Regions from separate parts of the Homo sapiens genome. Here regions 2, 3 and 4 are each linked to region 1. The links are contacts of gene promoters, found by promoter capture Hi-C in human tissues and cell types (Jung and others, 2019). All regions are on one chromosome and are shown on one strand. The core of a region is centred on a gene start or on the middle of the fragment in contact, and the rest is flanking DNA. Distances in the headings are between cores, read along the strand shown. Region 1 holds the start of MYO5B (myosin VB). Region 2 overlaps MYO5B (myosin VB). Region 3 has its middle 41 kb from the start of SKA1. Region 4 overlaps LOC105372114 (a long non-coding RNA gene).

Region 1 (5,706 bases), core at 2,350-4,849:
AGTGCAGAGGACACAAATATGGATCAGGTGTGGTCCCTGCCCTCAAGACTCTTAGAACCTAGTGGTGAGGAGGAGAAAGGGATATTAGTTCACATATCATACAGGGTGCAAATGAATGCCTTGGAAGTTCACTTTTTATTATTTGTGTGAGGGAAATCCTCACCTGTCAGGAAGGAGACTAAGGCATTTCCAACAGGTATCTTCTTTTTACTTTGAGAAGCCGTGGAGCACAGAGCAATGTTTCTCAAAGTGTGGGCCCTACACCACCTGGGATATGTATTAAATTTGCAGACTCATAGGCCGGGCATGGTGGCTCACGTCTGTCATCCCAGCACTTTGGGGGCCAAGGTGGGCAGATCACCTGAGGTTGATCCATCTCTGCTAAACCCCGTCTCTACTAAAAATACAAAATCAGCCAGGCATGGTGGCGCATGCCTATAATCCCAGTTACTCGGGAGGCTGAGGCAGGAGAATCGCTTGAACCCGGGAGGCGGAGGTTGCGGTGAGCTGAGATGGCACCACTGCACTCCAGCCTGAGCAGCAAGAGCAAAACTCCATCTCAAAAAAAAAAAAAAAAAAAAATTCAGACTCATTGATCATGTCTCTGACCAACTGAATTAACATCCCCTGATAGCCCCTTAATCCTGGTACACACTGAAGTTCAACATCCATTGACATAAAAAGCAAGGGTTAGACGCTCGAGTGAGACTTTAATTGAACAGTAGCTGTCTGACCTAGAGTGTTTTTCACACCCTTCTTCCCTAAGCCTCACTTTGCCCATCTGTGAAACAGCCTTAATATTCTGAACCTCCTTTATAAGGTTGCTCTGAGGCTTCAACAGGATCACAGAAGTAAAGCGCTTGGTATGTTTCCTGGATCAAGTAAGTTTTAAAATGTCTTTATTGTTCAAAGGAGGGAAACACCATATCTGATTGTGGAATTAGAAATTCACAAAGCTCTGGCCAAGTGTAGGACTCAGGAATGCGATTCAGTTCAGTTAACATGAATTGAGCTTTTCATTTGTGCCAGGTGTGATGGAAGCCAGACAGTTGGAACCAGTTACGGGTGGGGAGAAAGGATGGAAACAAATGAATGTCAGGTTGGTCCGAGGTCCAAGTGGCATTGTTACCATTGCCTATCTGCAGGTGGAAAGGTGGATCTTGAGTAAGGTTAGAATTAGATTTGAGAATTAGCATTGTGAGCAAGAGACAAAATGGGGGCGTGGCTGAGAAGAAAGATGAGATCTCTGAAATGGAGCATAGTTTTATTCAGAAACCAGGAAGAGGACGCAGGCCTAGAAAATAATGTTGAGAAGGTTTGGTTAGAGAGGCTGAGAAAACAAGAGAAAAATAGTACTCAGGGAAGAGATGGTTTAACGTAATGGGTTGAATCAATTCCCACCCCATGCTTCACAGTGATGAGGCAATTTCAATAGGATAGGTCTGAGTGGAAGCCAAATAAGAAGAAATTAGAACAGCAACATTTATTTATTTATTTATTTATTTATTTATTATTTTTTAAAGATGGAGTCTTGTTCTGTCACCCAGGCTGGAGTGCAGTGGTGTGGTCTCGGCTCACTGCAACCTCCACCTCCCAGGTTCAAGCGATTCTCCTGCCTCAGCCTTCCAAGTAGCTAGGATTACAGGCATGCGCCACCACGCCCAGCTAATTTTTGTACTTTTAGTAGAGACGGGGTTTCACCATGTTAGCCAGGCTGGTCTTGAACTCCTGACTTCAAGTGATCGGCCCACATTGGCCTCCCGAAGTGCTGGGATTATAGGCATGAGCCACCACACCCGGCCAGAACAGCAGCTCTTAAACTTGGCTGCCATTAGAACCATCTGGGAGCTCTTCAGAATCCTTTCACCCAGGGCAACACCCCCCAGACAAGTTAAATCAGAATTTCTGGGAGTGGGAACCAGACATCCACTTGTTTCAAAAGTGATTCTGATGTGCATAAAGTGTTGAGAATCAGAGAATTAAGGAGGTACTGGGCGTAAGTGGAGATAGCTAAATAAGTGAAGCTACTGCTTTAAGAAGTTTAGCAGGAGAGGAAAACACAAAAAGCCAGGGGCCAGTGGAGAGAGGAAGAGTTGCTGGTAGAGAGATGGGACCACTAATGGTGGTGGAGGAAGAGGCCAGGATCTAGGCAGGACTGATGACTTTCTTATTCAAAAAGGGGAGAATCACCTGGAGGCAGAAAGAACAATGAGTACTGGCCCCACACCAGAGTTTATGGTTCAGTAGGTCTGCAGTGGAGCCCAATAACTTGTATTTCTAACAGTTACCAGGTGATGCTGATGGTGGGCGTGGGGGGTGGGGACACACTTTAAGAGCTACAGGAATCCGGGGAAGGGAAATATGCAGAAAAACTTTTGAGGAAGAGAAAAAAATCCCTTTCTGCTCTTGCCACTGATGTGAAGAGTTCCATTTTTAGGTCCAATGAGAGCCGCCCAAGCTTTGGTCAATGCATTTGTCACCCTGGAAGTACCATCCTTTAGACTTTCAGAGGAGCTTTAAAAATTGGGATACCCAGGTCCCATCCTTCATTATATCAGAATTCCTTGGGTTGGGGCCTCTTCCTTGGAACGCTTAAAGCTCCCCATGTGACTCTCATTGTGGAGGTGCCCATGGGAAGGCCTGCACAGGTGAATTACAACGGGATCTTGAGTTCCAGGTGGGATGCCTCTGAGAATCACCTTCTGGGGCTCTTGAACAACTGCCCCGGCTGGTACAGATATATCTTCCGGTTGAGAACCACTTTTCAGGGGCCACCCCTGGGTCAGGGACAGATGTCAGCTTCAGAAGGGAGTGTCTCCTCTGACAGCCCCTCGTCTCCCTCCACAGACTTCTGGCAGTTTTTTTTTTTTTTTCTTGGTTGAAATTTCTACTTTTCACTGGAAGTAGGAGAGGAGCTGAAGTTGCTGCAGGCAGCCAAGTGCCATGGTCAGAGAGGGAACACAAATAAACGAGGTAGTGAGTGGCAAAAGGACCCGGAGTCTGCATGTAGACGAGACGGGGGTTGGGAGAACGTGAGACTTCCCGGAAAAGCAGAAGCCCTCTGAGATGAGTGGCCTGGAGTCTCCTTGGAGGCTGTGGGCGAAAGTGGACAATATTTGTACAGAAGGAGTTACGACTCCCACTTTACTGACAAGGATTTCCGCGCAGAGAGTTCAGTTTGAAGGAGAAGATCCCTGGTGTATGTATATCCAGGTCGCCTTAATAACGATCTACGAGTAACTGAATTTTAATCATGAAAGCGCTGAATACAGCCAGGTAAAATCGAGGGCAATGTCTGGGGCCTTCCAGCCATAGACGCTTCTCTTTTTTCCCCCCTCTCTGGTTAGTTCCTCTTCCCTTTTCTTGTCTGCACCGCGTTCATGCCGGACTCCGCGGGGCCCGGTGCGGGTGGAAGCGGAGCGCGGCAGGGCAGGTGCGGGCGCCGGGGCGCACCTGTGCCTGCGCGCGCGCGGCGTCCAGCAGGGGGCGGCCCGCGCCGGTCCCGGAGCTCCTCTCTGAGCGCCCCGCCCCCGGCCCGGAGGCCCAGGTGGCAGCGGGGGCGCGGGAGGGCGCGTCGGGCCGGGCACCGGCAGGGCTCAGAGGCGCGGCGGCGCACGGGCCGTCCGCTCTGACGCGAGCGGGTCCTCCCTCCTCGCCGGCCCTCGCCTCCTCCCCACACCTGGGAGGGGAGTGGTGCGGCGCGGCCTCCTCCCCCGGCGCTCGCAACTCCTGTCCGGCCGTAGCTGCGCCGCCGCGGCGGGAGTAAAGGTCGCGCCGCCGGGAGCGAGCCGGCCGCGGCGCCTGCGGGAAGCCGGCGGGGCAGGTCGGAGAAGAGCGAGAAGATCGAGAAACTCCAGGCCAGCCCGGGAACATGGCGCCAGGCGGGCCAGCCGCGGACTGAGAGCCGCGGGGCAGCCAGGAGCCGGGGCCCGAGCCCCGCCCGGCCCGGGCCATGTCGGTGGGCGAGCTCTACAGCCAGGTGAGCGCGGCCGCGAGGGAGGCGCCCCGGGGCCGGGGTGGCGCGCTCGGGGCCACCTAGTACTCAGGGTCGCCTTCTCCCTCGGCTACTGGAGGCGGGAGGTGACGGGAGACCCCCCTCCGCGGTGTCCTCCTCGTCACTGTCCTCGGAGTCCCTAACTTCGGTTGGCGGAGAAAGTTTGGCGGTTCCGGGAACGCCCGCACTGACCGGCCACCCGGCTCCTAGAGGTTCCGCAGCGCCACGGCTCAGCACCAAGCCAGGGCTGTCGCCCCCTCCCCGCCGCGCCCCTCACTTTCGTTGCCTGGGCTCGGCTCCAACCGAGTTCCCCGAACGGCAGGGCGACCCTGCCAGCTCTGAGCGCCGTGCGCGGGACGGGCCCCCGCGGTGCTCCCGCTGCTGTCCCCTGTCCCCGCCGTGGACCCCACCCCAGGGGCTCTGCGGCGCCGGCTCTCGAGGGCGCGCCTCCGAGGCGTCCTTTCCTCCCGCATACCCACAACAGGGAACCCTGGACTTGGGAGAGGTGGGGGTTCTGGACTTGGTGGAGAGGGAGGAGACAACCTGGCGTGAGGGCGCGGCGGCTGGATGGAGTGAGGGTAAGCAATGGGTAGAGGGGTGCGCCGTTATCTCCGGAGACCCCAGGGAAGAGCATTGTGAATTTGCTGGGGATGGATGTTTTGACGCGGCCTCTTTGGTACAAAGAGGGCTTCAGTGACTGCGGGGAGGGGGTTGGAGTAAAGTCGAACCGGGAGCAGGGTGTGAGTTTCAGGATGCCTTCAAGGTCAGAAGGGATGTGTGAGGCTGGGTGCTCCGAATCGGGAACAGGTGCAGCCCGGGCGGAGACGCCCGCGTTCCGCAGCAGTTGCTGTGGTTAAAGTTAGGGACAAGCCACCGCTTCCAGGGGAGCTCGCGGCAGCGCTGCAGCCGCCCGGGACCCCTCGAGTTTCAACCTGGAGTCAGTAGTGAGAGGGGCAAAGGCCTTTTCTTCACATGTGCCCTATGCACCTTTAAGAAAACAAGTTTTGGATAGTCCAATGCCTGGTTTTCCTGTTCGTCTTCTTGGGTGGCCAAAACACGTTTAACAGTGCCTATGCACACGCCTCCATGCAGAGTTGTGTGTGCGTGTGGTGTCCACGCGCGTTGCGTGGGTATGCGATTCCCGGGACACCCGCCCGGGCCAACAGGTCTGGGCTGGGTAGGAACAGTCACTTCCGCGTCCTTACCTGGCGATCACACGCGGCTGTCTAGCCCATGTGGGAGCCCTTCGGCTCCGTGGGCTGGCCACCCTTCTAAGTTTGAGGAATTATTCAACTCTCCCATTCCTCCTGGAGGGGAGCAGGGCCGGGATGAGTTCATGCTCAGGAAGGTGGCCGCGGAGGCTGTCACCTGGCTGGGGGTGGGGCCGCAGCAGCCTCAAATACAGCTTCCGAGCCCACCAGGGGCCACCTGTGCAGCGATCAGGGATGGGCGACGGCCTCTGGGGGAGGAGGGGAGGAGGTGGGAGCCAGGGCGTGAACTCTGTGACAGTCCTGGCCCTGGAACGGCACCCCACCCCTCTTAGCTGTGGAGGTATTGGGAGGATCCCTAAAAGCTCAGCTTTCAGTTCTTTCACTGAAGCCGGTTAGGTTTTCAGGAGCTGGGACTGGAGGCTGGAAGCCAGTGAGGCAGGGGAAAAATCTGAACTGGAGTGCTCAAAGAGCCGAAGCTTTGTTACATTAAAGTGCATGGAG
Region 2 (6,167 bases), core at 3,082-5,581, 230 kb after region 1:
TGCTGTTCTTAGGAGGCCTCCGTGAGCTGGGCTCGTGGGGCTGCTGAGTCCACAGATGTCAGCCCGGTTTGTGCAAGCTGGGATTTTGTGTTTATATTTGCCATTTAATTTTTGTAATTGTTTGTTTTCTCTAACATCCTGTGACTGCCTAAAGGGGAGAAATAGATCGCAAGGATGGCTTGTCTGGTTTGAAAACAATAGTTTTCCATGGATGGGGTGGCAACCTGGAGGACTTGGTCTCCTGTTCCTAGTGCCAGCTCCTCACCTGTGTCTCCTTCATCTCAGAGTGGCTTCCGGGCTCCTTTGAGACTATCTGACAGCTCTTCCATGAGGGCAGGGTCCCGATACAGGGCCATCAGCATAAGGCCATTCTTGGGAATTTTCCTACCCTTTGTGCTTTCTTCCGGGCATGCTATGTTGTTTTTTTCTTAATCTTCATTCTTTCTCAGAAACCAATTCACTTTTTTTGTTATAAAGTTGTCATATTTTAAAAGTGACTCTTCTTCTTGAGACAAATAAGTCCCATGCACAGTTACTCCTCTGTAGCTCAATGCAGTGCTGAGTTCACACTCTCTCTGAGTTAAGGATAACAAGTTAGATACAAGGGAATTCAGAGTGAACAAGCTAGCTGTGTGCCTGGGCCATTGGTTGCCAAGAAAGCACTTACATACATGCCCTAAATATGGAAGTGCATGCTACTCAATGGTCTGATTCACCAAGAAATTTTACAAATGTGGACTGGCCCAGGCTGTCTTTCTGGTGAGAGGGTATGTAATGAACTCTTAGGAGAACTCTTAGGAGATTAAAATCAACAAATTAACGGAAGAGCAGGTGGCTTGAGTCTGGAGGTACTTTCTAATCTATCAGGTCAGTGATATCATTTCTTAATCTGGGAGAAAACAACACAGAACCCTGGGTGGAAACTTGGGATAGCATGTGTGAGCCGTTTACTGTCATCTGCCCCTTTCCACTTACAGTGTCTTATCTGCCTTATTTCCTTTGGACTTCACATACCTTCCAGAAACCCACCAAACCTGCCTTTTTTGTTTTTTAATGTGGTCATTTCTTGGTTACCTGGAAGTGGGCATCACACTCAGCCCCACTTCTCGCCCTCTCTACTCACCTCCTTCCCAGTTCAAACTCATTCCAGTCATTAGGCTTTATTCTATTCATGACTATGGGAAGTGATTCTAAGGAGTTTTTCATCCTCTGTGGCATAAGAAAACCCAAGCGTTGTTTAGTTTTTGAGTTTTCTATTCATATCCCTGGCCATCAAACCCTGGAGGAGAAGACCATCTGTCCATTGTCTCACTCCTTCTTAGTGGGGGTGTGGGGATGCCTGAGTACCCATAGAGGATGCCCTGGGGCTGACCTGATGTCTTTGATTTTCTCACTTCTCCTTGTCTCTTTTGAGCAAGAGTGGCAAAAGTGGAGTCCAGAGAGAACAGAAAGAATACTGGGATGAGTTTCTGAATACAGCCAGCCACATCCGGGAAGTGGAAAAGAACGAGACATTGCCTCCCTCTCAGGTTGGAAATGGGCAAAGCTAGGAAACGAGGGTGGAACTGCTGCTTCTTCCCCTTGACCCCACCAGTGGCCACTGATTTCTTCCACTGGGATAACTGTCCCCGGATGAGCTGCAGTGCCTATCTAGGGCATTCCTGGCCCGCCAGTGAAGCTCATTCATGAACCGAAATAATTCTGTACCAAACATGAGCCACTCCACTTTTTCCTATAAATGTGTTAAATGTTACCACAGAACTCACAGCCAGAGTGAATACACACTCACTTCTTTCTATAAGCAAGCAGTACACACGCCAGCATCGTATACACACATTTCTCCCCATCACTGTGTTCTGACTCATAGTTAGCTTGTAGAGGAGAAAGGCTGTGGGCTTCTAAACAAATTAGCATGGGCCACAGCTGCTTCCACCATGACTGTGGTGAGTGCTCTGCTCAGAGGCCCTTCCCCAAGGCTTTTCTGAATGGTTCCAGACCCCCAGTGTCTGGTGGAAGCTTCCCTACATCTTGCTCCTCTGTCCCAGCTCCACAAAAAGTGCAAAGCAAGCAGTACTCAGAACAATTTAGTCACCCCAAGCTGAGCTCTTCACCTTAACCAAGGATCTGTGAAGTCGCCTTCAGGGTATTTTTGACCAGGCAGGGTATGGAAATTAATAGGGGAGATCCTGGCAGCTTTTGGCTGGGATTCCCTTTCCAGGTTGCATTAACCTGCATTTGCCTCTCTAGGCCTGATTAATTGCAGTCTGTAATCCTTTATACCTCTCCTCCCCTTGAGTCTCTAATCCTTTGTTCCTATCCTCTCTTTGAGGCAACAAGAAATAAACGGCTTCAATTTGGGAAAAATACACATTTACTTGTCTTTGATTTCAGCCTTCAAGATGCCAAGGTAGCAGAGGGCTTTGGCTATGGCCAGCCCATTCTTGCGGAGGACAGTTGGCCTGGGAGCAACACAGGCTGTAACAGATTCATGTGTTCTGCTGAGGAACAGCTGGGGAGAGAATGGGGTAGAAGGTGGGGAAGTTTTGACCCCAGGAAGCAGGACATAGGATTTCCTGGGATTTTATATCCTCATCAGTCCTCTGTTACTTTCTTGTGGTACTTCCTAATAATAAATTAGCATCCAACTCTATTCGGTGCTCTTTAATGGTATGTTTAAAAATGCCTTTAAGGCCGGGCGCGGTGGCTCATGCCTATAATCCCAGCACTGTGTTGTTAACGGTGGAGGGTGTCCAGGTTCTTGGCGTCTTGAACAAAGAATTGGACAAAACGCACAAAGCAAGGAAGGAATGAAGGGATTTATTGAAAATGAAAGTACACGCCACAGTGTGGGAGCAGGCGGAATGTGTTTTACATATTCATTTACAAGTTGTTACATATTCTGGTTATTAATCTTTTATCAGAAATATGATTTGCAAATATTTCCTCACGTTCTGTAGGTTGACTACAATGATATATTTTAAGTAAACTTCTTAGACCCACTGTTCACCTTTGTTTGGTGGGGAAAAAATATTCTTTTGCTTTAGTTTTCTTGGTCTCGCTCTCCAAAATAAACATAAATAACCTCAAAGCTGCAATAATTATTTGGAGGCTACCCATCTCTTCTCTAGCCAGTATCGAAAGGTTTCACAGAAAATGGAGGGGGAGAAATCAGGAATTGCATTAACCCTTCAGCCTGTGACAGTGTCTCAGCCCTGGACAGCCCAGAAGATCCCTGGACATGCCTTCTTCAGGGAGGACATGCATGGCTAGCCACAGTGTTCTCAAACCTTGCAGATCATCGGAAGCTGTTGGCTTCACCCTGGAGTCTCCCAGCCTCCTAGGAAAGCCTCATAGCTCAAGAGGGCTCTAAAGCCAGGCTCCACCTTCCCGAATTGTTCTGAGGTGGCCCTTTGGAGTGTGCCTGGAGCCTGACACCACTGTGTGCTTCCAAGGCTCAGATGAAGTTCCATGTTCTCTCTGTCCATGCCAGTACTCCCACACTATGTGGCAGTCCAGGTCTCACTAACGCAGGCCTCTATAGCAACTGTTTCAGTACTGAGTGAGTGGTTAAGTTAAATATTAAAAGCTAAAAAAGTCAGTGCCCTCATACAAAGGCTGGAATGTAACAAGAGCCCACCAAGAGTCTTGCCTAGGCCCTTCCTGGGCCTTAAAGCATGACAAAATAAGGAATGAATTCTTAACAGGACCCGTTTAAGATTAAACAAGTTTTATTGTGGGTCTGAAGAAACTCCCCAGGCCTCTAGAAACAAGTTTATTGGGGGGCCTGAAGGAACTCCCCAAACCTCCGTGATTTAGCAGGAGACAAGATAAGGGTAATCACCCCAGCACCCGGACCCATTTAGATTAAGTAAATTTACTGAGGCTCCAGAGGAAAGTCTTCAAGACTCAGATCTTAGTTATAGATTAGAAGTTAATCACTTATGTCTTTGGATGAATGCACACTTACATGTAGACATACAGCTTAGAAGGTATATAAGCTCTGAAAAACTTTGTAATTTTGAGTTGGGCTGGCGATAATTTCCAGGCCTTCTCCCTGTAACTGGTTGCAGAAAGTAAAAACTCTTTTCCTCCCCAGCTCATCTGCATCTTGTTATTGGGCCACGAGAATAAGCAGCCCGACCCTCAGTTTGGTTTGGGAACACTATGGCCTCATTGTCTTTTAAAAGCCTACAACACATACAATTTCTATTCCTTGGGGAGGCTCTCATGTACTAGTTTCCTGTCATCTGCCCAGTAGCTCTTCTGGGCAGGGACTGTGACTTGCTCATCTTTACAGCCTTCATAGTTTGGGACAGTTGGCTGTTAGGTTGGGAGAGGATCGCCATACAGTGGATGTTTTCCTGTCCTGCATTGGAGTTTCAGGCCTGAAGACGAGCTGGGAATTGGAGCATTTGGCAAACTGAGTGGATTTAGGTCCTCAAGAAGAATAACTGACCTTCGCCTTGGGGTGTGAACAGTGCCTGGGATTGTGTTCTGTCTAAAAAAACTAGTCCTGGGTGGGGGCATCTAGGCACAGAGAAGCACCTGAGCGGAATGCAGGCCCCACCATTCCAAGGTACAGCCAGCATCCCGAGGTTGTTCAGTAAAGAGATCAGAAGGGTTGGCCTCTCTGACAGACCCAGGGTGGCCTTGTGAGATTTTATAGGCTTCAAGATGGAAAGGGACCTTGAAAGGATGTCTGGATCATTTCTCTGACCTCAATGCATGATGGCCCTGCTTTTAAAGGCTTCTCCAGGGAGAATTTCTCCATGTTATATTTTCTGTGTGACTTCTAATAATCATTCCCTGGAAGCTATCGTCTGTATCTAATCTGTAGTCCATCTTTTCAGTCTACCAAAGGCAGAATGCTGGAGAGTGAGCTTTATAAATTGGAAAGACCAGGCTGAGCTAGGAGATTTTAGTTCCTTTGACCTGTGCCAGGGGAACGTAGAGTTTCCCAATCTTCAAAGCATCTCACTGCCTCTCTGTTCTCTCTCCAGGTCATGGAGTGAGAGATTCAAGGAGGTTGATCATTAACTTAGTGACTAATTGACTTTTTATTGCAGTTTCACTTTCCAACGGACACTACCTTATTTGTAGAGGCATCTGTGTCCCTTACTACACTCTGAAGTTAAGGTAGAATGAGAAGGAAATTGTATACTTTTCGACTATGAAAATAGAAATGGAAACAGTGTGATCATTGTGCCATCGAGAGACCAGATGCCACATTTCAGCATCGATTCTTACTCTATGTTTTGACCTTCCTCCGGCCCAAGGATTCTGGTTTAAATATTTTCAACACTGATTTTACAAGAGAAATTCAGTTCTCTTTAGCATATAAATTTCTTTGTGACACTTTAATGTTGTGAACTATAAATTGATTCATTGTGTTTATTTTAAAAAGTCTTCTCTGTTGATGGGAGGAATTACTATAAATATAATTCCATTGTAAAGGAAAAGTTACCCAATCTCCCCAACTGTGGCTTTCTGAGGTCTGTCATTTTAGATGTTTCCCCAAGCTGCCCGAGCCCCTCATTCATTTCTGGGCCTCCGGCATTTAAGTAATTATGCTAGATGGCACAGGAATTGTTACCAGATAATATCTTAGAAATAGGAAAATTACAAGCTAATTTCAGTCCATCTCAAATTAATGAGAATGTTCTTTGTGGAGTGCTACCAGTGTAAACCTTTAGAAAATGACAAGTCTGAGATATTTAAATCCTCTGTGGAGCTTAGCACAGCTCTGCCAGCACACCCAATTGCTATTATCTGGCCAATTGCTGGGGTGGCTCTTTTATCTCCCACCTAGGTTTTATTAATTCAATTTCCTCTGGGGCTTGGCTGCCATCAGCAGCTTCTCTCAGGGTGGAGGATCGGGGAAGGCAGTAAGGTTCTAAGGGACATAGCTCAGTCTTTAAGACTATCATCTGGGCTGGAAGGGCCCCAATTCAAGGCAGTGACTGGCAGACACAGTGCTTCTCCTGCTTGGTCTGGAGTGCACAGGGGTGGCCTCCTTCATCCCAGCATACACTTTACATCTTTGATCTTGTTTTTTCAACCTAGAATTATTTCTCACACGTGGGCATGGCCAAAGGCTGTGCTTTAATGTGGTTTGTCTCCAAGCAGTTGACTCATTTAATCTCTAAATGATTTCCTACTCCTCCTGA
Region 3 (6,327 bases), core at 452-2,951, 220 kb before region 1:
AGTACATTGGAAAGCAACAGCTGGAAGGCAAAAAAGTTGAGTAATGATATCAGCTGCTACCTACAAAAAGGGAGACAAAGTTTGGATACTGAATCCTGCTAAGTTAGAGGGGCTTTTTAAACAGCTTTGGCTTTCTATGGAAACAACAGAAGGGCCTTAGGAGTAAATAACCTGTGACCCAGGACTAATGAGTGAACAGCTGGGAAACATACATGTAATAGAAATACAAGGAGTGGAAAGAGAGGATGGAGAGAAAGAAATATTTGAAGCAATAGTGCCGGAGAATTTCCCAAAATTAATGACAGATACGAACCACAGATCTAAGAATCTTAGAAAACACCAAAGATAAATACCAAAAAACCTATACCAGAGCATATTGTATTAAAACTACAGAAAGCCAAAGAAAAAGAGAAAATCTTGGAAGAAGTCAGGGCAAAAAAGAAAGAACCCCACTTCACCTATAACAGCAACAAGAATAAGAATCACATCAGACTTCTCATCAATAACTATGCAAACAAGAAGACAATAAAGTGATAGATTTAAGATGTTGAAAGGAAAAAAAACAGAAAAGTATCCTTCAAGAGTGAAAGAAAAATGAAGACTTTTCAGACAAATAAATCTGAGGGAGTTTGTTGTCAGTTGACCTGCTTTGCAAGAAATGTTAAAAGAATTTCTCCTTCCTTCCTTCCTTCCTTCCTTCCTTCCTCTCTCTCTCTCTCTCTCTTTCTTTCTTTCTACAGTCTCCCTCTGTTGCTGAGGCTGGACTGTACTGTCGTGATCTCGGCTCGCTGCAACCTCCCTGCCTCGGGCTCCCCTGATTCTCCTGCCTCGGCCTGCCGAGTACCTGGGATTGCAGGCACGTGCCGCCATGCCTGACTGGTTTTTGTATTTTTGGTGGAGACGGGGTTTCGCCATGTTGGCCGTGCTGGTCTCCAGCTCCTGACCTCAAGTGATCTGCCCGCCTTGGCCCCCCAAGGTGCTGGGATTGCAGACGGAGTCTCGCTCACTCAGTGCTCAATGTTGCCCAGGCTGGAGTGCAGTGGCGTGATCTCAGCTCGCTACAACCTCCACCTCCCAGCCGCCTGCCTTGGCCTCCCAAAGTGCTAAGATTACAGCCTCTGCCCAGCCGCCACCCCGTCTGGGAGGTGAGGAGTGCCTCTGCCCGGCCGCCACCCTGTCTGGGAGGTGAGGAGCGTCTCTGCCCAGCCGCCACCCCGTCTAGGAAGTGAGGAGCCTCTCTGCCTGGCCGCCACCCCATCTAGGAAGTGAGGAGCATCACTGCCCAGCCACCCATCATCTGGGAAGTGAGGAGCGCCTCTGCCCGGCCGCCCATTGTCTGGGATGTGAGGAGCACCTCTGCCCGGCCGCCACCCCGTCTGGGAGTTGAGGAGCTCCTCTGCCCGGCCGCCCCGTCTGGGAAGTGAGGAGCGCCTCTGCCCGGCCGCCCCATCTGGGAAGTGAGGAGCGCCTCTGCCCGGCCGCCCCGTCTGGGATGTGAGGAGCGCCTCTGCCCGGCCGCCCCGTCTGGGAAGTGAGGAGCGCCTCTGCCCGGCCGCCCCGTCTGGGAGGTGAGGAGCTCCTCTGCCCGGCCGCCCCGTCTGGGAGGTGAGGAGCACCTCTGCCTGGCCGCCCCGTCTGGGAGGTGAGGAGCGTCTCTACCCGGCCACCCCATCTGGGAAGTGAGGAGCGCCTCTGCATGGCTGCTGTGCAATCTTCCAAGTGTGAAGTGACAGCCTTTCTGCAGGTGTACCCAACAGCTCCGAAGAGACAGCGACCATTGAGAATGGGCCATGATGACGATGGCGGTTTTGTCGAAAAGAAAATGGGGAAATGTGGGGAAAAGAAAGAGAGATCAGATTGTTACTGTGTCTGTGTAGAAAGAAGTAGACATAGGAGACTCCATTTTGTTCTGTACTAAGAAAAATTCTTCTGCCTTGGGATGTTGTTAATCTATAACCTTACCCCCAACCCCGTGCTCTCTGAAACATGTGCTGTGTCAACTCAGGGTTAAATGGATTAAGGGCGGTGCAAGATGTGCTTTGTTAAACAGATGCTTGAAGGCATCAAGCTTGTTAAGAGTCATCACCACTCCCTAATCTCAAGTACCCAGAGAAACAAACACTGCGGAAGGCCACAGGGACCTCTGCCTAGGAAAACCAGAGACCTTTGTTCACATGTTTATCTGCTGACCTTCTCTCCACTATTATCCTATGACCCTGCCACATCCCCCTCTCTGAGAAACACCCAAGAATAATCAATAAATACTAAAAAAAAAAAAAAAAAAAAAAAGAATTTCTTCAGGCAGAAGGAAAATGATATATGTCAGAAACTTGATCTGACATATATTTTCAGAAAGGAAGGGCATTTGGAGAAGGAATAAATGAAGATAAAATAAAATCTTTTATTTTTTATGTTCATAATTGTTCTAATAGATTATTGTTGGTTTAAAATAATAATAGCAACAATGTTTTAGGTGATTATAATTTGTGGGTAAGTGAAATGATTGATCTTACAAGGCACAGTAAGAAGAAACGACATATTCTTGTACAAGGTACATATACTACCCATGAACTGGTATACTGTTATTTGAAATTGGACTTATATTAATTGTAAATATATATTGCAAACTCTAGGACAAACAATAGGAAAATGTTTTAAAAGAAGATAATATATATTGCTAAGAGAGGAGAGAAAATGGAATGATATAAAATCCTTAAAACAGAGAAGTCAGAAAAAGAAGGGAATGTTTTCTGAAAACAAAAACAAAAACAAAAACAAGTGCCACAAATAGAAAACAGTAGCAAATATGGTGGATATTAACCTAAATATATCAATAATCACTTTAGAGGTGAATTTTCTAAATATATCAATTAAAGGACAAACACTGTCAGAGTAGATTAAAAAAACCAAGACCCAAGTAGAGGCTGTCTAAAAGAAAACCATTATAAATATAAATATGCAAATAGATTAAAAATAAAAGAATGGAAAAAGATATATACACCTTGCTAACACTAATTGAAAGAAAGCTGGTGTACCTATATATAAGTTTTAGACAAAGCCAACTTTAGAACAAAGAAAATGACCAGGAAAAGAGAGACATTAATGATAAAGGGGTAAATTCTCCAAAAAGACATAATAATCCTTAGTGTGTGTACACCTAACAACAGAGCATCAAAATATATAAGGCAAAAACTGATGGAACTGCAAGAGAAATAGACAAAGTCACTATTATAGTTGGAGACTTCAATACCCCTCTATCAGTAATTGATAGACGCAGCAGGCAGAAAATCAGTATAGATGTGGTTGAGCTGAACAATAAACCATCAGTCAACTGAATTTAATTGACATTTATAGAATACTTCATCCAACAACAGTGGAATACACATTCTTCTCAAGCTCACATGGAATATTCACTAGGATAAACCACATCCCAGTCCAGAAATCACAACTTAATCATACAATAGAAATCATACGAAGTATGTTCTCAGAACAACATGGAATTAAACAAAAAAATCAATAACACAAAGATATATAGAAAAATCTGAAAATATTTGGAAATAAAACCACACACTTGTAAATACACATGGGTTAAAAAAAGGAGTTTTGAGAAATTTTAGAATATTTTGAAAGAAGGTAAATGAAGATACAACTTATCAAAATTTGTGGGGTACAGAAAAAGCAGCGCTTAGTGGGAAATTTAAAATAGTACAGCCACTCTGGGGAACAATTTGACAATTAAAAAAAGAAAACTAAATAAACAACTACCATAGGATCCAGCAAGAACACTCTGGGGAACTGCACTCCCAGAGAAGTGAAGACATGTTCACACAAAAAGGATCCTTGTGGTGATGGAAATGTTCTGTATCTTCACTGTATCAATGTCAATATCCTGGTTGTGATACTGTACTACACAGATTTGCAAGATGTTACCATTGTGATAAAGGGTACAGGGGATCTCTCTGTTATTTCTTACCACTGCATGTGAATCTATAATTATTTCAAAATAAAAAGAATTTTATTAAATGACTAAAAAAAGGATAGAGGTGTGGGTTACATGGCTATATGGACTGGTCAACACTCACTGAGCCATATCCTTAAGATCTGTACATTTCACTGTATGTAAATTTTATCTTAGTTTTTTAAACAAGATTTTGTTTCTAAGTTGCCTAACTTAACTGCTTTTCAATATACCAGGGCAAAAGAGTACTCATAATAAAGAATTTGAGGCACAGTCTGCTAGTCACATTATAATTTCTCATAAATACTTTTGTGTGTTCCTTAGAGACTTGAGTCAACCTAATTTTAACAGAGCTAAATTGATATTATATTAAATTATATTCAACTCTCTAATCATATATAGTCTTAGCTCCAGTTTGAGTCACATTCTTTGCAATGTATCAGGAAGATCCCTCAATATCTTGAGTAATTCTTCCCTTTTGCCACTTATATTAGTAAGTATATTTGTGGAACAATGGCAATGGTTTATTAGGAGATGGGATATTTCATAAAAGCAATCATTTAATATTATGAAACAAAACTGCATACTATCAAATATAATGCTACTCAAAGCACTACACTCATTTCATTTATGATTAGGTATAATTTACTTATAAATTATAAAATATTAAAGCCATACTTAATAAGCAAAATAAATTAGAAAACTAAAAATATTGACTGAAAAAAAGGCCACGTTTTTATCAAGGTCCTTAGTCAATGAAAGCTTCTTAGTTTTTATTACGTAATTAGTAACAGAATTTCAGTATTTCTTGAAGCCTAATTTAGAGACTCTTTTCTTAAAAGATGAGACTTGCGTGTAATTATCAGAATGTTTTTTACATATTTTATGACCCATCCAGACGGAATATCCTTTTTTTTCTCTTTCCACCTTTTATTTCAGATTTGGGGGTGCATGTGCAGGTTTGTTACATGGGTAAATTTCATATTGCAGGGTTTGATGTACAGATTATTTTGTCACTCAGGTAATAAGCATAGTACCTGATAAGTAGTTTTTTGATCCTCACCCTCCTCCCAACCTCCACCCTCAAGTAGGCCCTGGTGTCTGCTGTTCCTTTCTTTGTGCCCATGTGTACTCAATGTTTAGCTCCCACTTATAAGTGAGAACATTTACTATTTGGTTTTCTGTCCCTGTGTTAATTTGCTTAGGATAATGGCCTCCAGCTCCATCCATGTTGCTGCAAAGGACATGATCTTGTTCTTTTTAATGGCTGCATAGTGTTCTATTGTGTATATGTACATTTTATTTATCCAGACTACCATTGATGGGCACTATGAACATACATGTACATGTGTCTTTATGGTAGAACAATTTATCATCTTTTGAGTATGCCCAGTAATGGGATTGCTGGGTTGAATGCTAATTCTAAGTCCCTTGAGAAATGTTCAAACTGTCTTCCATAGTGGCTAAACTAATTTATGATCTTACCAGCAGTGTATAAGTGTTCCCTTTTCTTCATAACCTTGCCACCATCTGCTGTTTTTTGACTTTTTAATAATAGCCATTCTGACAAGTGTGAAATGGTAGCTCATTGTGGTTTTGACTTGCATTTCTCTAATGATTAGTGATGTTGATCATTTTTCCATATGATTGTTGGGTGCCTGTATGTCTTCCTTTGAGAAGTCAGAGAGAATATCCTTTAATTTCATCATAAATGTATTGCCCAGAAGTAACTAGAAATATTAGAATCATAGAATATTAAAACTAGAAGGTCCTTAGAGAGATGTTTATGCAACCATCTTGATACATACAGGAGGAAGCTGAAGCATGGAAAGAAGTCATTTGCCCAAGGCCACCAACTTTCAGTTAATATGCATTCAACAAATGTTGACTTAGTGCCCTCTATTGTAGAGCCCTATTGGAACAGCTTTCAGACACAGCAGTGAACAGAAGGGACAAAAACTCCTGCTTTCATTTATTAGAATTCTAGTGGGGAGAGAAAGACAAATAAAATATATAAACCATCAGATGGACGTAAGTGTGGAGAAACTGTTGCAGAATGGAGCTGTAATTTTTAACATAGGGTGATCCAAAAAGGTCTAAAGCAGGGGTCCCCAACCTCTGGGCCATGGACTGGTACTGGTCCATGACCTGCTAGGAACTGGGCCACACAGCAGGAGGTGAGTGGTGGGCAAGTGAGCAAAGCTTCACCTGTATTTACAGCTGCTCCCCATTGCTCGCATAACCGCTTGAGCTTCACCTCCTGTCAGATCAGCAGTGGCATTAAATTCTCATAGGAGCACGAACCCTACTGTGAACTCTACATGCAAGGAATCTAGGTTGCACACTCCTTATGAGAATCTAATGCCTGA
Region 4 (5,784 bases), core at 2,028-4,527, 160 kb before region 1:
CTGTTTAAAGAAAAGGAGGCTGGGTGTGGGGCTCATACCTGTAATCCTAACACTTCAGTAGGCCAAGGCAAGCTGATTGCCTGAGCTCAGGAGTTCAGGACCACCCTGGGCAACATGGTGAAACCCTATCTGTACTAAAAATACAAAAAAAAAAAAAACAAATTAGCCAGGCCTGGTGGCGCATGCCTGTAGTCCCAGCTACTTCGGAGGCTGAGGCACGAGAATCCTTTGAACCTGGGAAGTGGATGTTGCAGTGAGCTGAGTCGCGCCACTTCACTCCAACGCAGGCAACAAAGGGAGACTGTCTCAAAAAAAAAAAAAAAAAAAGAAAAAGAAGGAAAAAGAGATGTATTAACATAGCAGCTTTGTGGTACTGAATTGCTTGTTTTTTTTTTTGTTTATTTGTTTGTTTTAATAAGCAGAGATTGTATTTCAGCACCTTTTGCCCATGCTTCCTTTTCAACACAAAGGAAAAGAGTAAAAGCACTGTTACCATTCAAGGTGGAAAATTCAATTTGGATCACTGGAGGAGAATTTAATAAAAAGAAATATTTAAAATATATGGGTAGTTTACAGAAGATAGCAAATGATGATGGAGTTCTCTGGGGCTTGCAATCTCAGGGAACAGTTATTATTACCTCTAAGCACAAAGATTGAAGGTCATGGGGTGAGGGGTCTATGGAATGGGTCACCTGACAGGAACTATGGCCTTCAGTATCAATTCAGAGAACACTCATGGGGAGAATAAATACCTGCCTCCATTCTCCTCCCACCTATGGATCTTTTGCTGATAACCCTACACTGGTTGGCTGAACCCAACCTGAAGCCAGAAGGCAAAGGAAACCCTAGGTCAGCACCCACATTCCCCCACTGGGTCCAGGACTGGCTGGAAAACCACAGAGAGTGGATCTTAGGGGGCAAATGGAAGACACCAGCACAAGCCTTTAGATTATGCTGTTCACATACTGACATACTTTGTGAATTTGATAAAGTATTTATCAGAACAGTCATTAGTATTTTACATATAAATATTTGAAATCAAGTACTATAATAAGTTACATAAGTATATCTTTTATTTGATAGGGATTTTTCCCAATGCATTTTAAGCACTTTAAAGGATATTGTTACGTTGGTATTTACAAAGTGGGCAGTTGTCCAGTTTCTGAGATAGAGAAGTATAAGGCTTGCCAAATTTCCTAGAATCAATTAGTTGTGGAAGCAGCTGCCAATCTGATCTCTAATAACGGGCCACAGCAAAGCCAGACAGAACCATTTTCATGTCATTTACATCAATGTTTTCATTTTGCCAGATAGGTTTTAATCTCCCAGGCCAAGGCATTTTTCTTGCTTATCTCCTGAAAGTTATTTTTTTTAAGGAAAAATTTAACTATAAAAAGGAAAACACAGAATTTCATTTTATTAACTGCCATTATGATGTGCAAGTCTATATAATGTATAATGAGGCAGTTTTGGTGTTTTAGAAGTCCTCTATGTGGATACAACTAAGCATACTGAGGTACAGATTCTGTATATAACCTTTATATAAGGTTAAATTAATAACATGTACTTCAAAGATGCTTATAGTAAATTGCAAGATTGTAGATCTTTGCATCAAAGATTTATCATACATCATTAGAGCACTCCCAAACCTCCAAATAAACTTCCCAGATAATTTAGAAAATGGTTAAATTATGATAGGAATCTTTCACGTGACATTGCATCACTGTTATAGCAGAGGGGACAAACCTAGGCACAGTGAATTCACCTTCCCAGATGCAATTGGTGTTTGAGAAAAATTGAGGCTGCCCAGAATGAGTCAAAGCTGCAAATGAGCTCCCCAGAGCCTGGCTACATTCAGGGGAGTAGAATGTGTGCCCCTACCATGATGGTTGGTAGAGCAGCAAAGCTCAGTACTCTGTTCACCATGTAGTGGTCACATGCACATTCTGCAGTTGAGTGGATTGGGTCTCCCTTGCCAGACTTGATGAAGCTGTTCCAAGGCCCAGATTTTCACCTCTGCATTTTCGCTTGTACCCTGTTGCCAAACCATTCACTTCACCTCAGTGCCTGGGCAGGAACATCACCACTGTGATTCTACTTTCATAAGCAGTGACAAGTGTGAGTTCACTGTTATGACAAAGGATGTGGTTGCCAATTCCGAAGCTGCTGTGGATGGCAGTAAGGCAGGATAGAGTGGAAGAGGCAAGCTGGTCACCTCACCCCCGAGCCCCACTCCACACAATGCATTTCTTTTTTTTTCTTTTTCTTTTTTTTTTTTTTTTTGAGACAGAGTTTTGCACTTGTTTGCCAGGCTGGAGTGTAATGGCAGGATCTTGGCTCACTGCAACCTCCTCCTTCCAGGTTCAAGCGATTCTCCTGCCTCAGCCTCCTGAGTAGCTGGGACTACAGGCATGTGCCACCATGCTCAGCTAATTTTGTATTTTTAGTAGAGACAGGGTTTCTGCACATTGGTCAGGCTGGTCTCAAACTCCCGACCTCAGGTGATCTGCCCACCTCAGCCTCCCAAAGTGCAGGATTATGAGCATGAGCCACCGCGCCCGGTCCACCCAATGCATTTCTTAACTGTCTGTCCTCCTGACTAGGGTCTACACCTCTCTGCCATCCATTATACTTCACTGGTCTTGCCCAGCTCCTGGTCTTGCCTCTTCCACTCTATCCTGCCTCACTGCCATCCACAGCAGCTTCAGAATTGGCAACGACATCCTTTGTCGTAACAGTGAACTCACACTTGTCATTGCTTATGAAAGTAGAATCACAATGGTGATGCAGTTGACAGGAGGGCAGCCACACCTGACATTATGGTCAGTAGTGAGCTTGGGGGTGATGGCAGCTCCCTTTCTGAAATGCTGATGTGGAAACCCAGGCTTCTTTGCATGAGGCACACATCCTCTCTTGATTTGGCCCCTGCCTGCCTCATCAGCTTCATCTTTCAGCACCTCCTGCTTGGACGTTTATCTCACAGCAACAGCTGCCTGTAGGGTTGCTCCTGTGCCCCTGTGTGTGACCCCCCACCCCTCCCTCTGCCATCAGGACACACACAAGCCCTGCCAGCCCACCCATGTTGTCTGACCCCACTAAGTCTTTGGTTATGATGTTCTTTCTACACCTCTCATTATTCTCTATCTCAATCATCCATTCATTTTTCAAAATGTAGTGAACGAATCCCCTCCCATTGGAAGCCTTCCTTGATCCCTTCTTGGATTAAGTTTCCCTGCGAGTTTTCTTCTGATTTAGTTGGTCTAGGGGTGGGGTTCAGAATCAGAAATTTAAAAACTCCTTGGATAATTCTAATGTGAATCAGAGTTGAAAGCCATTGAGGGAAAAGAAAGGGAAGATGGGAGGAAACAAGACGGTGGGGCTTTCCAGGTTCCTACCTGAGGCTCACTGGTCTTCTACTGAAATGCAACACCAGGAGGGGTGTCAGGAGTTGAACTGTGCTCACCCCACATTCATATTTCAAAGTCCTAACCCCCAATACCTCAAAATGTGACTTATTTGCAGATAGGATCTTTACAGAGGTAATCAAGTTAAAATGAGGTCATTTGCTGGGCCCTAAACCAATATGACTATTGTCTTTACAAAAAAGAGGAAATTTGGACATGAAGACATGCAGAGAGGATGGTGATGTGAACAGGCAGGGAGAAGATGGCCATACAAGCCAAGGAGAGAGGCTTGGAGCAGACCTTCCCCTCAGAGGAAACAACCCCTGCCAATACCTTGATTTCAAACTTCTTACCTCCAGCGCTGTGGACAATAAAGTTCTGTTGTGTAAGAAGCCACTCAGTTTGTGGTACTTTGTTTTGGCAACCTGAACAAATCAATACAGAGGGTAACAATAAGAAAAAGCCCTACCAGCGTATTGCTTGAGCTCAGGAGTTCAAGACCAGCCTGGGGACCATGGTGAAACCAGGTCTCTTAAAAAAAATACAAACATTAGTCAGGAGTGGTGGCACGCACCTGTAGTCACAGCTACTCAGGAGGCTGAGATGGGAGGATCGCTTGAGCCCAGGTGGATGAGGCTGCAGTAAGCCATGATGGTGTCACTGCACTCCAGCCTGGTTGACAGAGAAAGACCCTGTCTCAAACAAATAAATAAATAACAAAAGAAAAAGAAAAAAAAAATTCTCCACCATCCCTGGATTCACTTGTATTTCCTATGAGCTAAGCCTGGGCTCTTCCTGGTGATGGATTGAACTTATCTTTGCATTGAGGAGATATTGTTTTTAAAAATCATGAGCTCTAAAGGAAAGGTTTTTGTGTTCAATACACTCTGTAAGAAATGAATAAGAATGTTCAGATAATCTTTATGTAGGTCCTTAAGAGTTAAGCTTTGAGTAGAGAGGCTGTTTCTTGATGATGCCAAAAGGATGAAGTATTACCATAAAGCAGAACACGTTATCTCTGAGTGCTATCAATAAAGCTCCATCCAAATCATAGCTTACTTAGAATGCTGAATATTTGTCATCTTCCTCAAACGTGAGAAAACAGATTTTGGCTTTATTGTAATGCTGGCTGGAAGGTTTACTTGCCACATGGCCACAAGGTGGCAGGGCAGTGCCATTCTTCTGGAAGCCACCAGAAAAACGCAGCTAGGACTACGTGGCCACAGGTAGGAAGTCAGCAGTGCTCTTCAAGTTTATGAAGTTGAACTTTCGCTCTCTTTTTAAGCACTCCCTTTTTCTGAAAATCAAAGTAGCACATGTTTTTAATTGAAAATGTTATCCTGGGCAACATAGTGAGACCCTGACTTTATAAAAAATTTAAAAATTAGCCAGCTGTGGTGGTACACACCTGTAATCCCAGCTACTCAGGAGGCTGAGGCACGAGAATCACTTGAACCCAGGAGGTGGAGGCTGCAGTGAGTAGAGATTGTGCTGCTGCACTCCAGCCTGAGTGACAAAGAGAGACCCTGTCTCAAACACACACACACACACACACACACACACACACACACACAGAAAAATATAAAGAATAAAACAAAAAATTCATTATCCCACCACTCAGAAACAAACATGGGATGTGTAGACCATTCCCAGCCTTCTCTGCCAATGCCACCTGCTTAGGATACCCCTCTCTCACCTGCTCTGCAACACCCCTCCTGCCTTATCTCTCTCACTTCCTCACTCTGCCTAACGTGCCTCTCCCCATCTTTCTTCTTAACACTCACTACTATTTCACAGCAGTTGTCACTGCCTCCTCTGCTAGTCCGTGAGCACCATGTGGGCAGATAGCTTGTCCTGTCAACCCCTACCACCAGGAGCAGCAGTCCCAGGATGTCAACCCACTGCATTGCAGAACTGTCTATTTCTCCCTTCAAGTCTGTCATTTTTTTGGCTTCATACATTTTGGAGTTCTGTTGTTTGGTGCATGTCTCAGTCCCTTTTGTGTTGCTATAAAAGAATACCTGAGACTGGGTAATTTATAAAGAAAAGAGTTTTATTTAGCTCATGGTTCTGCAGGCTGAGGATCTCAATGGCATGACCCTGGCTCTGGCAAGGGCTTCTGTGCTGAGTCACAACATGACAGAGAAGGGCAAAGAGGAAGCAGACGTGTGAAGAAAGAGAAACATGAGGGGTGACCTGGCTTTGTAACAACCACACTTGTAGAAACTAATCAATTCCTGTGAGAACTAATCCAGATCCAGTCTTAAAATAGGAAGAACTCACTGACTATCTTGAGAACAGCACCAAGCCATTCATGAGGGATCTGCCCTTATGACCCAAACACTTCCCACTAGGCCCCACCTCCCAACACTACCACATT

What was found. The method cuts DNA at HindIII sites, captures the fragments that hold promoters and counts their contacts. A contact is called where the count stands out against the background at its distance.
Region 2: a fragment that was not itself captured here is called in contact with the fragment with the promoter of MYO5B in region 1 in 1 of the 25 tissues and cell types used here (aorta).
Region 3: a contact is called between a fragment that was not itself captured here and the fragment with the promoter of MYO5B in region 1, in 1 of the 25 tissues and cell types used here (bladder).
Region 4: a fragment that was not itself captured here is called in contact with the fragment with the promoter of MYO5B in region 1 in 1 of the 25 tissues and cell types used here (lymphoblastoid cells).

Annotation. Positions count from the first base shown.
Region 1 is chr18:50,193,040-50,198,745 of GRCh38, reverse strand. It overlaps MYO5B (myosin VB), which reads left to right and starts at 3,599. Exons shown (of 40, transcript NM_001080467.3): 1 at 3,599-3,979. The coding sequence starts at 3,953. RefSeq lists silencers at 3,385-3,624, 3,685-3,924. The HindIII fragment of the contact is 5,061 bases long and covers 876-5,706 here.
Region 2 is chr18:49,966,204-49,972,370 of GRCh38, reverse strand. All of the region lies in intron 10 of MYO5B (myosin VB), which reads left to right. It overlaps LOC124904299 (a long non-coding RNA gene), which reads left to right. Exons shown (of 2, transcript XR_007066365.1): 1 at 1-1,529; 2 at 2,392-2,650. Among named protein-coding and RNA genes, the nearest start is that of SNHG22, 160 kb to the right of the region's middle. The HindIII fragment of the contact is 7,322 bases long and covers 671-6,167 here.
Region 3 is chr18:50,412,837-50,419,163 of GRCh38, reverse strand. No RefSeq gene overlaps it. Among named protein-coding and RNA genes, the nearest start is that of SKA1, 41 kb to the right of the region's middle. The HindIII fragment of the contact is 7,478 bases long and covers 1-5,440 here.
Region 4 is chr18:50,356,208-50,361,991 of GRCh38, reverse strand. All of the region lies in intron 1 of LOC105372114 (a long non-coding RNA gene), which reads left to right. Among named protein-coding and RNA genes, the nearest start is that of SKA1, 16 kb to the left of the region's middle. The HindIII fragment of the contact is 7,543 bases long and covers 1-5,784 here.